Regions from separate parts of the Homo sapiens genome. Here region 2 is linked to region 1. The links are contacts of gene promoters, found by promoter capture Hi-C in blood cells and fetal thymus (Javierre and others, 2016). All regions are on one chromosome and are shown on one strand. The core of a region is centred on a gene start or on the middle of the fragment in contact, and the rest is flanking DNA. Distances in the headings are between cores, read along the strand shown.

What was found. The method cuts DNA at HindIII sites, captures the fragments that hold promoters and counts their contacts. A CHiCAGO score of 5 or more calls a contact.
Region 2: a fragment that was not itself captured here is called in contact with the fragment with the promoter of BUB1B-PAK6 in region 1 in 10 of 17 cell types (M0 macrophages, M1 macrophages, M2 macrophages and 7 more); the score reaches 15.3 in M0 macrophages.

The regions. Positions count from the first base shown.
Region 1 is chr15:40,214,746-40,221,267 of GRCh38, forward strand. It overlaps BUB1B-PAK6 (BUB1B-PAK6 readthrough), which reads left to right and starts at 2,683. Exons shown (of 10, transcript NM_001128629.3): 1 at 2,683-2,922. BUB1B (BUB1 mitotic checkpoint serine/threonine kinase B) reads left to right here. Exons shown (of 23, transcript NM_001211.6): 21 at 2,751-2,922; 22 at 3,711-3,817; 23 at 5,819-6,378. The coding sequence ends at 6,014. All of the region lies in intron 1 of LOC107984763 (a long non-coding RNA gene), which reads right to left. The HindIII fragment of the contact is 293 bases long and covers 2,494-2,786 here.
Region 2 is chr15:40,260,607-40,267,128 of GRCh38, forward strand. It overlaps BUB1B-PAK6 (BUB1B-PAK6 readthrough), which reads left to right. Exons shown (of 10, transcript NM_001128629.3): 3 at 4,175-4,383; 4 at 5,236-5,889. The coding sequence starts at 4,180. It overlaps PAK6 (p21 (RAC1) activated kinase 6), which reads left to right. Exons shown (of 11, transcript NM_001395430.1): 4 at 4,175-4,383; 5 at 5,236-5,889. The coding sequence starts at 4,180. Among named protein-coding and RNA genes, the nearest start is that of PAK6-AS1, 11 kb to the left of the region's middle. The HindIII fragment of the contact is 1,135 bases long and covers 2,652-3,786 here.

The sequences.
Region 1 (6,522 bases), core at 1,433-3,932:
CTCATCCAGGGCACCATAGGTATTTTGGGTGAGACAATTCTTTGTGCAGGTGTGTTCCAAGCAATGCAGGATGTTTTATATTCCTATTCCCCCCCACCCACCCAATTAAGTGCAAGTAACAATCCCCTAAGCCGTTGTGACCACCAAAAATCCCCCCAAATTTCCAAGTATGAGAACCCCTGGTATATTTTCACTCTACTTAACATTAAAATGACAGTGCTGAAATTCCCAGGGCTATGGAAATTGGAAGCAGAGGTTTTTTCTAAGCCTTTTAGAATTGGCCATTTGTGGTCTAATGAAGTACGATAACCCTTCTCTCAGCCACTAGAGGCTCTAGGAAAGTCCATAGTATTAAAGAGGCATTGCTTTTTACTTTGTCACTGCTTATCAAATTTAATCAGAAATTTCACATAGATTCATAAGGAATTAAAAGCCAGAAAGGGGCCGAGCACAGTGGCTCATGCCTATAATCAATCCCAGCACTTTTGGAGGCTGAGGCGGGCAGATCACCTGAGGTTGGGAGTTCAAGACCAGCCTGACCAACATGGAGAAACCCCATCCTACTAAAAATACAAAATTAGCCAGGTATGGTGGTGCATGCCTGTAATCCCAGCTACTTGGGAGGCTGAGGAAGGAGAATTGCTTGAACTCAGGAGGCAGAGGTTGTGGTGAACTGAGATCGCACCATTGTACTCCAGTCTGGGCAACAAGAGCAAAATTCTGTCTCAAAAAAAAAGCCAGAGGCCGGGCGCAGTAGCTCACGCCTGTAATCCCAGCATTTTGGGAGGCCGAGGCGGGCGGATCACGAGGTCAGGAGATCAAGACCATCCTGGCTAACACAGTGAAACCCTGTCTCTACTAAAAATACAACAAGATAGCCAGCCGTGGTGGCAGGTGCCTGTAGTCCCAGCTACTCAGGAGGCTGAGGCAGGAGAATGGCGTGAACCCGGGAGGCAGAGCTTGCAGTGAGCCAAGATCATGCCACTGCACTCCAGCCTGGGTGACAGAGCGAGACTCCATCTCAAAACAAAACAACAACAAAAGCCAGAAAGGGCTGGATGCAGTGGTTCACATCTGCAATCCCAGCACTTTGGGAGGCAGAGGCAGGAGGATCTCTTGAGGCCAGGAGTTCAAGACCAGCCTGGTCAACATAGCAAGACCCTGTCTCTACAAAAATAAAATAAAAGCCAGAAAGAACCTTTTGAAATTGCTTAGTTTAGTTGCTTACTTTAGTTTCTGCATATTTTTTGTGAGGAAAATGAGATCCAAAAAAATGGAATGTCCTACCCAAAGTAACAGTGAGTGAGTAGCTGATTAGAGGGCTAGGACACCTTCATGCATGCTTCTTTTTATTAATCTATGAGACATTTTTTCCCTATGCCTCCAAAGTTATATAAATATTTTACAATTACACTGGGCATGGTGACTCACATCTGTAATCCCAGCACTTTGGGAGACCAAGGCAGAGGATCACTTGAGCCTAGGAGTTCAAGACCAGTCTGGGCAATATAATGAGACCTCATCTCTACAAAAAATTAAGAAATTAGCCAGGCATGGTGGCACACACCAGTAGTCCCAGCTACTCGGGAGGCTGAGATGGGAGGATCGCTTGAACCTAGGAGGCAGAGACTGCACTGAGCTGAGATCGCACCACTGTACTCCAGCCTCAGTGACAAGAGTGTAGACCTTGTCTAAGAAACCAAACAAAACACACACATGCACACACTTTACATATATATATAAAATACATATGTATATTTTATATATATCAGAATCCACGATCCCTATAACTATATATATACTATATATATATATATATATATATATTTTTTTTTTTTTTTAATTATAGTATAGTTTTATGGTGGCCAAAAAAGGTTGGCTCTTGTGCCAAGGAAAAATGAGAGCAATTATCAATTTTAAAGTAAAATACATAGATCATTCTGTGCCGTGGAGGTATGTAATTGGAGTAGTTAAAGACTGTATTTAGGAATATTGCACCAATATCAGGAGTTTGAGGGAATTAATTGAGAAAAACAGACAAAAGGAACACATGAAAACCCACTCTTTTCATTTATAAACAGTTCCTATGTCCCCTTGGAGAATAGCATTATTGCATAGGATAGATAAACCCAAGGAAAACAAAATTAATTGATAATTAATTAGTATTATAAAGATTTTTTTAGTAAATAACTGGAATTACAAGTAAGAGTAAGATAAAATATGGTGTTTTACAAGAAATTTTACAATACAGATAGGACTTTATAAAACAGACTTGCATTGTTTTCCATTAAACTCTGGAAGGAAGAATCTAAACAATACTTGGAAAGCCTATCTGGAATAGTAAACAAGAAAGGCTATGACACCTATAAAATTTTAATTTCCTCCATCATAATTCCTGTCAGTGTATAAATCATTGCAATTGTATGTGTTAATGTGTACAGTACAGGGAAGAAGCCTGTGCTCTGCTTCCATACTTACTTTATATAATATGGAAGCTTGATAAATGTTTAATGGTGGCCATGCACCGTGATTGAAATATACTTTGTGTCACCAAAGTGGTGACATTCCTTCCGCATTGGGTGGACACTGCCACTGCTCTGTCTTACAGGTGCATTTTCAAAATTAACCACTGGAGGGAGTTGTTGGCATAGCTAAGATGTACCCAAGGTACCTTTTTTTTTTAAAGACCAGCTATGCAGCTTCTTTCATGGCCTATTTTTATTATCTCCTTCTCTTAAATCTGGGCTCAGAATCCACGATCCCTATGATTGTAACAAGAACAATCAAGCTTTGAAGATAGTGGACTTTTCCTACAGTGTTGACCTTAGGGTGCAGCTGGATGTTTTTACCCTCAGCGGCTTTCGGACTGTACAGATCCTGGAAGGACAAAAGATCCTGGCTAACTGTTCTTCTCCCTACCAGGTAAGTGTAAAACAAGCCTGAGCAAATATGGAGAGGGTTTCTTAATCTCTTTATTATCTAGATAAGCTATAAAAGCTACTGTTTACTGATACCGACTCCTAGAATAGATGACCTAGTTTTCAAATATCACCAAGTCAAGTAAAATGTAACATTTTTGTGTTACAGCATTGAAGAATATACACATACATGTGCAAACACATGACTAACTCTGTAACCGAGTGCCAGGGCCACTCCTACTGCCTACCACCCATGTAATCTTTTATAAGTCATTTTCTGTGATCTTCTCTGTAAAATAGGGATAACAGTCTCTGCTATGTGTTTATCAGAATTGTTATGAGGAGTAAATGAAGTAATGTATATAAAAAGAACATTAGCACAAATGTAAAGTCTTTTGTATGGTGGCATTATATGCAGAAATTCCTTCTAACTCAGCTTTAGACATAAGACATTTGCTGATTGAATATGTAGCACAAACCTGAACTAATCATGTGGACCCCATTTAGATCACAGCTGGAGTTCATGCAAACTCAGTAGGTCTACAAATTTGAATGTGATAGTCCAAATATTTCATCTTTTGTTCTTAAGGATAATTCCTAGAATTGGCTCTATTGATCACTTCTTTGGAGAGCTTCTCCCTTTACTGTAAGGGTGAGGAACAGTCTACTAAAATGTATGTCATAAAATAAACTTAGTTAAGCACTGTAATACCTTTCAACTTCCTACCGAAATAAGCTGCCATGGTAGAGGCAGAGAATTATTTTAGCTGATGGTGCTTTTTGTGATTTCAGGTAGACCTGTTTGGTATAGCAGATTTAGCACATTTACTATTGTTCAAGGAACACCTACAGGTCTTCTGGGATGGGTCCTTCTGGAAACTTAGCCAAAATATTTCTGAGTAAGTATTGATGAATGTCAGGGTCTCTGCCTGTCCCAATAATTTTCTGTTTCTCTTGGGTGCTATCTCTGCTTTGGCAGCCTTAGTTTTTTAATCCAAATGCCATGGTTCCAGTAGTTTCAGCCAGTTTTCATTAGAGTATCAGCAGAGCAGCTAGTGCAGGAAAAAGGAACTGCTTACTAAAAATAAGATTCAAAACTATTCAGACTTCAGGACATCATTCTGAATCTAGCTGTATCTTCCAGACTACAGCTATAGTATGGAAGCTTCCCTGTTTAGATATGTGAAAAGAAGCATTTCATGAGAATAATTTTCTAACTAATTGGTGTTAGCCTTAAATTCCTTTTTCTTTATTTATTTATTTTTTGAGACGGAGTCTCGCTCTGTTGCCCAGGCTGGAGTGCAGTGGCATGATCTCGGCTCACTGCAACCTCTGCCTCCCAGGTTCAAGTGATTCTCCTGCTTCAGCCTCCTGAGTAGCTGGGATTACAGGCGTGCGCCACCATGCCTGGCTCATTTTTGTATTTTTAGTAGAGATGCGGTTTCACTACGTTGGCCAGGCTGATCTCGAACTCCTGACCTTGTGATCCGCCCGCCTCGGCCTCCCAAAGTGCTAGGATTACAGGTGTGAGCCACCGTGTCTGGCCTAAATTCCTTTTTAATAGCAATTATTACCAAAAGTTAATAAGCATCCTTTGAAAAGACTTACATTTCTAAACTATATGCTAATTTTAGGCTATTTTTTATTTAATAAGTGGATAGAACCAAACCAGATAACTGACTCTCCTGGAGAAGAAGTAAGTGGTCTCTTAATAAGCACTGCTTGGTCTCAGAACCTTAGTACTCCCTCAAGCCTGCTCATAAAACTTACTAAGTCAGCCGGGCATGGTGGCTCACACCTGTAATCACAGCACTTTGGGAGGCCGAGGCAGATTACCTGAGGTCAGGAGTTTGAGAGCAGCCTGGGCAACATGGCGAAACCTTGTCTCTACTCAAAATACAAGAAAATTAGCTGGGTGTGGTGGCACATGCCTGTAATCCTAGCTACTTGGGAAGCTGAGGCACGGGAATCACTTGAACCTGGGAGGCAGAGGTTGCAGTGAGCTGAGATCGCGCCACTGCACTCCACCCAGGGCAACAGAGTGAGACTCCGTCTCAAAAAAAACTAAGTATCTACGTTCCACTTTAGCTTATCTTAGCAAATAAGTTCCCAGCCTGTCACCTATTGTTATATTCTTTGGTTAAAAAAAAAAATGAGTGTTGAAGATTTAATGCCCCTTCTCTATTTTCATCTTTGAATAATTGAATTGTACTTTTCTCTTCATTTAATTCAGAACTTGGCCAGTGTTGTCTCTTACATGAACTTTTAAAAATAGGCTTGAAATACAATGTAAGACATATAGGATGGATATAGGCATGTCCACTTGGCTATGGTCCAGGCAGGTCTGGCTAACACAAGCAGAAACAAGTGGGGTCAGTTGGGGTTTCCTAACAGCCCTGCCTTATCTAATAAGGGAAGTTTCTCTGATCAAAAGAAAATAATAAGAAGCAAAGGTACAAACATATTAAGCAGTAGTTAGTTTAGTCAAGCTTACGATTATCAGAGAATTGTAAAGAAGATCCACTACTGGGGTAGGAGAAAGGAGCTGTAGCCTTTTTAATGACCTAGACTCTAGGAAAGTTAGAGGAAATAAAATTCCTTTTTCTTCTATTTGTAGAAGAAAAGTGCTATGTCTTAGTACACAGAGGAAATTTATAGATTTAGATGAGAGATCTTCTTTCCCTTTATGTGCATTGTATCTTGGCTTTTCCCACTATGGTAGCCCTTTTTTGTAGTTCTTCCCTGGGCTTTCAAAGGACTATTTGAATGATCTCTAACCCTAGAGTTCTAGGTATTACCTTACACCATTTTGGTGCATAAATGTACCACTGAGTTAAACTAAAAGGAATTATAATTTTCATATGCCTAATCTTGATGGAAATGGTTTTATATATTTTTAGGCTAAAAGATGGTGAATTGTGGAATAAATTCTTTGTGCGGATTCTGAATGCCAATGATGAGGCCACAGTGTCTGTTCTTGGGGAGCTTGCAGCAGAAATGAATGGGGTTTTTGACACTACATTCCAAAGTCACCTGAACAAAGCCTTATGGAAGGTAGGGAAGTTAACTAGTCCTGGGGCTTTGCTCTTTCAGTGAGCTAGGCAATCAAGTCTCACAGATTGCTGCCTCAGAGCAATGGTTGTATTGTGGAACACTGAAACTGTATGTGCTGTAATTTAATTTAGGACACATTTAGATGCACTACCATTGCTGTTCTACTTTTTGGTACAGGTATATTTTGACGTCACTGATATTTTTTATACAGTGATATACTTACTCATGGCCTTGTCTAACTTTTGTGAAGAACTATTTTATTCTAAACAGACTCATTACAAATGGTTACCTTGTTATTTAACCCATTTGTCTCTACTTTTCCCTGTACTTTTCCCATTTGTAATTTGTAAAATGTTCTCTTATGATCACCATGTATTTTGTAAATAATAAAATAGTATCTGTTAAATTTGTGCTTCTAACATGTCATGTAGTTTTTGCAAACTAAAATAACAGATGGCTTAACTTTGCAGAGATGAACTATTTTGCCATGGAAATTTATATATCCTAGACTTCGAATTGTTACAATAGGGTTGTGATGAGACAGAGTAGC
Region 2 (6,522 bases), core at 1,969-4,468, 46 kb after region 1:
TCTTGGCTATTCCTGGTTCTTTATATTTCTGTATACATTTTAGAATCAGTTCATCAATTTCTACCAAAGGAAATATGCTGGGATTTTGTTTGAGATTTAAATTAATCTGCAGGTTAACTTGGGAATAATTGACATCTTTACAGTATTGAACCTTCTCATCTATGAACATTCTTTAATATCTTTAATAATGTTTTGTATTTTCCAATATAAGGACTTTGTATTTTTTTGTTAGATTTATTCTAGATATTTTGTATTTTTAATGTAAAATGATATCTTTTTAAAAATTTCATTTTTTTTTTTGAGACAGAGTCTCGCTCTGTCGCCCAGGCTGGAATGCAGTGGCCTGATCTCAGCTCACTGCAAGCTCCGCCTCCCAGGTTCACGCCATTCTCCTGCCTCAGCCTCCTGAGTAGCTGGGACTACAGGTGCCCACCACCACACCCGGCTAATGTTTTGTAGTTTTAGTAGAGACGGGGTTTCACCGTGTTAGCCAGGATGATCTCTATCTCCTGACCTCGTGATTCGCCCACCTCGGCCTCCCAAAGTGCTGGGATTACAGGCGTGAGCCACCGCGCCTGGCCCTTTTTAAAAATTTCATGTTGTTACTGGTATGTAGAAATCCAGTTGATTTTTTAAAATATTGACCTTGAGCCTGGGCACGGTGGCTCATGCCTGTAATCCCAGCACTTTGGGAGGCTGAGGCGGGTGGATCATGAAGTCAAGAGATCGAGACCATCCTGGCCAACATGGTGAAACCCCATCTCTACTAAAAATACAAAAATTAGCTGGGCGTGATGGCGTGCGCCTGTAGTCCCAGCTACTCAGTAGGCTAAGGCAGGAGAATCACTTGAACCCGGGAGGCAGAGATTGCAGTGAGCTGAGATCACACCACTGCACTCCAGCCCGGGCAAGACAGCGAGACTCCATCTCAAAAAATATATATATATATATTGACCTTGAATCAGGGACCTTCTAAATTCACTCCCTTAATCCCAGTTTTATGTAGATTCTCCCGCATTTTCTACTTACACAGTTATGTTGTCCCACACAGTGTTGGCCTCACCACATTTCAGATGAGTCCTAGCTGCCTCCCTTTAGGTGGTTGATTGGTTGATTTTCCAGACCTAAGTGATGGCCTCTGGTTTCTAAAGCTCTACTCCCTAGCCCCCAAAGCCTGAGCTCAGCTGATTGCTTCTGCCAACTCCCACCCTCACCATCACCACTCCTGGCCCTGGGACACCCTCTGGGCTGTCCTTCTTTCTTCTCCAGCCTCCCTGCTGCCTCTGGGAAGAACTTGTTCCGGAATGGCTCACTATTAGAATGGACTCAAGAGAGGCTCCCAGAGTCAGAGACCATTTGCTAAAGATGCTCTCCCTGTGCATCCCCACAGCAAAAGCTGAGCGCTTGGGTGGGGCAGGGGAGTTGGGGAGAGGGCTGTTCTGGGGTGGGTGGTGGGGGGCGGATTCACCAGCTCTTCTTCAGCTGCAGTCTGTGTCCCTGCACCTCCAGAAGATTTCACAGAGCTAGGGAGGAGGGCGAAACAGGCAGCTCAACTAATCCAGGGATAGCAGGTCTATCCAAGGGACTGGGGGAATAGACCTGCTGAATAAAGACTCTTCTGTAGCAAAAGGCAAAGGCTGTAATCCCAGCACTTTGGGAGACCAAGGCAGGTGGATCATTTGAAGTCAGAAGTTCGAGACCAGCCTGGCCAACATGGTGAAATCCCGTCTCTACTAAAAATACAAAAATTAGCCGGGTATGTTGGTGGGTGCCTGTAATCTCAGCTATTCAGGAGGCTGAGGCAAGAGAATCACTTGAACCCGGGAGGTGGAGGTTGCAGTGAGCCCAGATGGTGCCACTACACTCCAGTCTGGGCGACAGGGCGGCAAGACTCCTTCTCAAAAACAACAACAACAACAACAAACAACAACAAAAAAGGCAAAGGCCAAAAGGAGGAGGACAAATTTTACCAAACCATGATGTATATATGGCGAGGTCCCCAGGTCCCAGACCCCTGACATCAGGCATGACCCCTTTGACTGGTAAGTCTGAGCAGAAAGTGGTTTGGTGTTACTCCCAGACTTGTATCTGCCCAAGTGCCAGTGTCTGGAGGGCCTGAGCTTCAAGACAGGGATTCAAAGAGAGGTGACATCACAAGAGAAACAACCGTCATGTATGGGGACTCTGCTTACTTCACACACCCTAAACCCTATGAGCTGTCTTTCATTAACCCCCCTGGCTCAGATCATTTCAGTTATTTGTTCAAAATCTCTCCAAATTATTAGTGGGAGACTCCCTACAACTCATCTGCAACTCACACAGGTTGTTTTATTCCAAAGGGCTTGGTCTGTAAGGGTCCTGTACATGTGGCTCTACCTCTAGGGGGTGTTCGGTGGATCCCGAACCTCAAGACCCAGAAGCATGGCTGACATTGAGATGTGACGTGGGCTCTGATTGAGTCACGCATGGTGAATTCCTAGTGGGGAACCACTGGCTGTCCAGGGTCCCTGCCTTTCTGCCAGCTGCCTCCCAGATCTGCGACCTCCTTCAGAACCTGCCAAAATGACTAGGAAAATGCTGTTTCCATAGCAAGAGCCAAAAGAGAACATGACGGCCCTGCACTCCAGATCTTCGGGCGGATGAGTAATCCAAGCTTTCAGTTCAAGAATCATGTTTCAGTTTCTTGAAGCCTGGAAGTGACCTTTTCAGATACATAAGAACCCAGTGAGCTGTTCTGAGCCTCTTCAGATCCAAAAGCATTCAAGAGGCAGCCCTGGCCCTGTCTGCCATCAACATGTGATCCCAGGTCCGGGATCCCCTGAAGGCGAAACTAGAGCAACCCTTTGGAAGTGTCCCTCCCCTTCCCAGGCCCCCAGTTCCCCACTCTCAGATCTACCCATGCTATCCATTGCAAGCCTGTGTCACTTCTGTGTATGCAGCTCAGCACGACCTTAGGCAAAGCCAGAATCAGCAAGGCACGGGACACAGGCTTGATTGCAGGTTAAGTGTTTTATTGTTTGTTTTTTGAGACAGAGTCTCATTCTGTTGCCCAGGCTGGAGTGCAGTGGGGCAATCTCAGCTCACTGCAGCCTCAGCCTCCTGGGTTCAAGCGATTCTCCTCCCTCAACCCCATGGGTATCCGGGACTACAGGCACGTGCCACCAGGCCCGGCTAATTTCTTTGTATTTTTAGTCAAGACAGGTTTTCACCATGTTGGCCAAGCTGGTCTCAAACTCCTGACCTCAGGTGATCCACCCGCCTCGGCCTCCCAGAGTACTAGGATTACAGGCATGAACCACCATGCCCGGCCCAGGTGATGTTTTACATAGAGCTCCAATACCAGAGAGAAGAGTGTCAAGGGGAGGTGGTGCTCTCTGCCTTCTCTGGAGAGCTTTACCCCTAAGTTAGCTGCCCCTCACCCACCCCAGGCTATCCTCTTGGCTCAGGGCCTTTCTGGAATTGAGGTAAAGCACATGGTAACCATGAAGGCCCTTTGGGGGCTCCCTGATACATAATAGTCCCACACCGGGCAGCATGTCTGTGATCAGCTGGTTGGCTTTTTATTAACGTATCATATTAACAGGTTCAACCATCCTGGGACAAAGCTGAGTTGTAATAAAAAAAAAAAGCCAACAAAAAAATAACTTTAATATACTGTTGGATTCAATTCGATAGTTTTAAGATTTTCATAGTTACGTTCCTAAATGATATTGAGTCAAATTTTCCTTTTCTTGCACTCTCCTTATCTGGTTTTAAGAATCAAGGTCATACTCGTTTCATAAAACAAGCTTGCTAACTTTCCTCCCTCTTTCCCCATTTTTAAAATTCGTTGACAGACAGTGGAATGATACTTGTAATGGGCTTTGGATTTTATAAAAACACACCCCCAGAGTCTGCCTGCTCCATAGGGGACTTGGCACAGGCAAGAAGACACCTCTTTTCCTTGTTTATAGTCTGCACTGGCTTATTTATGGCACGTTTGTTGTTTCTGGGACTGTTCTGCTGGGAGCCAGCCATTTCCCTGAGGAAGCAGAGATGGAGGTGGAGGGAAGCCCTAGGCTTCTAGGGGAGCTGTGCTGGGGGAGGGGAGGGAGCCCTGAACCTGGTGCCCCAGGCCCTGCTGCAGCCACCCCTCTTTCCCGGGAGGGAGCTCAACCTTACTCTGCACTTACAGGCACCATGTTCCGCAAGAAAAAGAAGAAACGCCCTGAGATCTCAGCGCCACAGAACTTCCAGCACCGTGTCCACACCTCCTTCGACCCCAAAGAAGGCAAGTTTGTGGGCCTCCCCCCACAATGGCAGAACATCCTGGACACACTGCGGCGCCCCAAGCCCGTGGTGGACCCTTCGCGAATCACACGGGTGCAGCTCCAGCCCATGAAGGTAAGAGGGGCCGGCAGGGATGAGGTTCAGCCTCTCCCAGTACTCAGACAACCATGCCTGGCTAAACCTCAGAAAGGCCCCTGGAGGAACCACCTACTTCACAGCTATCAGTTAATCAGCTGTTTTAACTCCCTGCCTGTCAGCCTGCCATTCTCTCCCTGGGTAAGCCAGGGCGAAGGAGGCTGGGGAGACCCTCTCTGCAGGGTGGTGGGGTTGCCAGATTCAGCACATGAAAATGTGAGATGCTCAATTGCATTTGTATTTCAGATGACAACGAATAGTCTTTTAGGACGTGTCCCATTCAATATTTGGACCTGCAGCCCCATAGGGACTGAGGGCTCTCCCAGACCAGGAGAATTTTAGTTGTGAGGGTCACGACTAGTAGACCCAAGAGCCTGGTAGAAGGTGGGGTCAGGGGCCCTATCAGGGTTTGGAGGCTGCGAAGCCAGTGTGTGTGGAGGAGCCCCCGGCCTGGTGTCTCTTCCTCAGAGGGCTGGGCACATCTCTCCCAGCCACCCGTGGAGCTAGAGAATGGAGCCCCGCCCCCTGAGCTCCAGCTCCCTGGCCCAGCCGACCACACCCCTGGGCATGCTGGATGCAGCCCCATGGCACTCACCATCTGCTCTGCTGACGCTGGGCCTTCTCCCCGCATCCCTGCATCCAGCACAGGCGGGACCCACGGTGGGCCCTGATAAATTATGGAAAAATTAATGGGTGGATGACACAGCAGGGAAGGTCCTTAGGTGGTCCTCCCCAGGGCCCCCAGGGACATTCTCTGACCCTGATCTCCCAGCCACCCCTCCCTGCCACAATTGGGCAGCTCCCACACACTCTTTTCTCTTCCCCCTACAGACAGTGGTGCGGGGCAGCGCGATGCCTGTGGATGGCTACATCTCGGGGCTGCTCAACGACATCCAGAAGTTGTCAGTCATCAGCTCCAACACCCTGCGTGGCCGCAGCCCCACCAGCCGGCGGCGGGCACAGTCCCTGGGGCTGCTGGGGGATGAGCACTGGGCCACCGACCCAGACATGTACCTCCAGAGCCCCCAGTCTGAGCGCACTGACCCCCACGGCCTCTACCTCAGCTGCAACGGGGGCACACCAGCAGGCCACAAGCAGATGCCGTGGCCCGAGCCACAGAGCCCACGGGTCCTGCCCAATGGGCTGGCTGCAAAGGCACAGTCCCTGGGCCCCGCCGAGTTTCAGGGTGCCTCGCAGCGCTGTCTGCAGCTGGGTGCCTGCCTGCAGAGCTCCCCACCAGGAGCCTCGCCCCCCACGGGCACCAATAGGCATGGAATGAAGGCTGCCAAGCATGGCTCTGAGGAGGCCCGGCCACAGTCCTGCCTGGTGGGCTCAGCCACAGGCAGGCCAGGTGGGGAAGGCAGCCCTAGCCCTAAGACCCGGGAGAGCAGCCTGAAGCGCAGGCTATTCCGAAGCATGTTCCTGTCCACTGCTGCCACAGCCCCTCCAAGCAGCAGCAAGCCAGGCCCTCCACCACAGAGCAAGGTAAGTCAGGAGCCTGGCCTGCAGGTGTCCACTGGGGAGTGGGTGTAGGGACACAGGCCTTGCCTAGCCTTCCCCTTGGAGGACTGGCAAAGAGGCTCCCTGGACTGCTTCCGCCTAAGGCGGCAGAAATGTGCACGGTAACCTCTTCTCTAAGGAGGGTGGCTCGCCTCCTCCTTCCCTCCCTTCCTTTCCTTCTTTTCTCTGTGGCTGTTGTGTTGTTTCCCATTTCTGTCAGTATTTGTTCCCAAGTGTGTGGCCATAGGAAAAGCTGGATTTGCCTAGTCCAGGGGCAGCAGGAGGCCGACTTGTGGCATGTGTGACTGCTTCAGACGCACATTTTTCTTGTGAGAAAGGAAAGGGTGAAGGGAGCCCCCGTGGTGACATTTCTTGGCAGGCAGAGTGGAGCGCACCTTTTTGCTTCTTCCAGGCCCTCCAGCATCCTGTTGATAGTGACAGTAACCTCTTTTCCCATTTGGCAGAGGAGGAGACTGATAGAGAGAGGGTGAGTCACCCCCAGGCATGATGGAGAGTGAGTCAGAGAAGGAAGGTGGGGAGTGCTCTGGGGCTGCCTGTCCGGCCCGGGCCCTCTTGGCTCATGACTCTTGCGTATGAAGGCTTTACAAGCACAGCAGC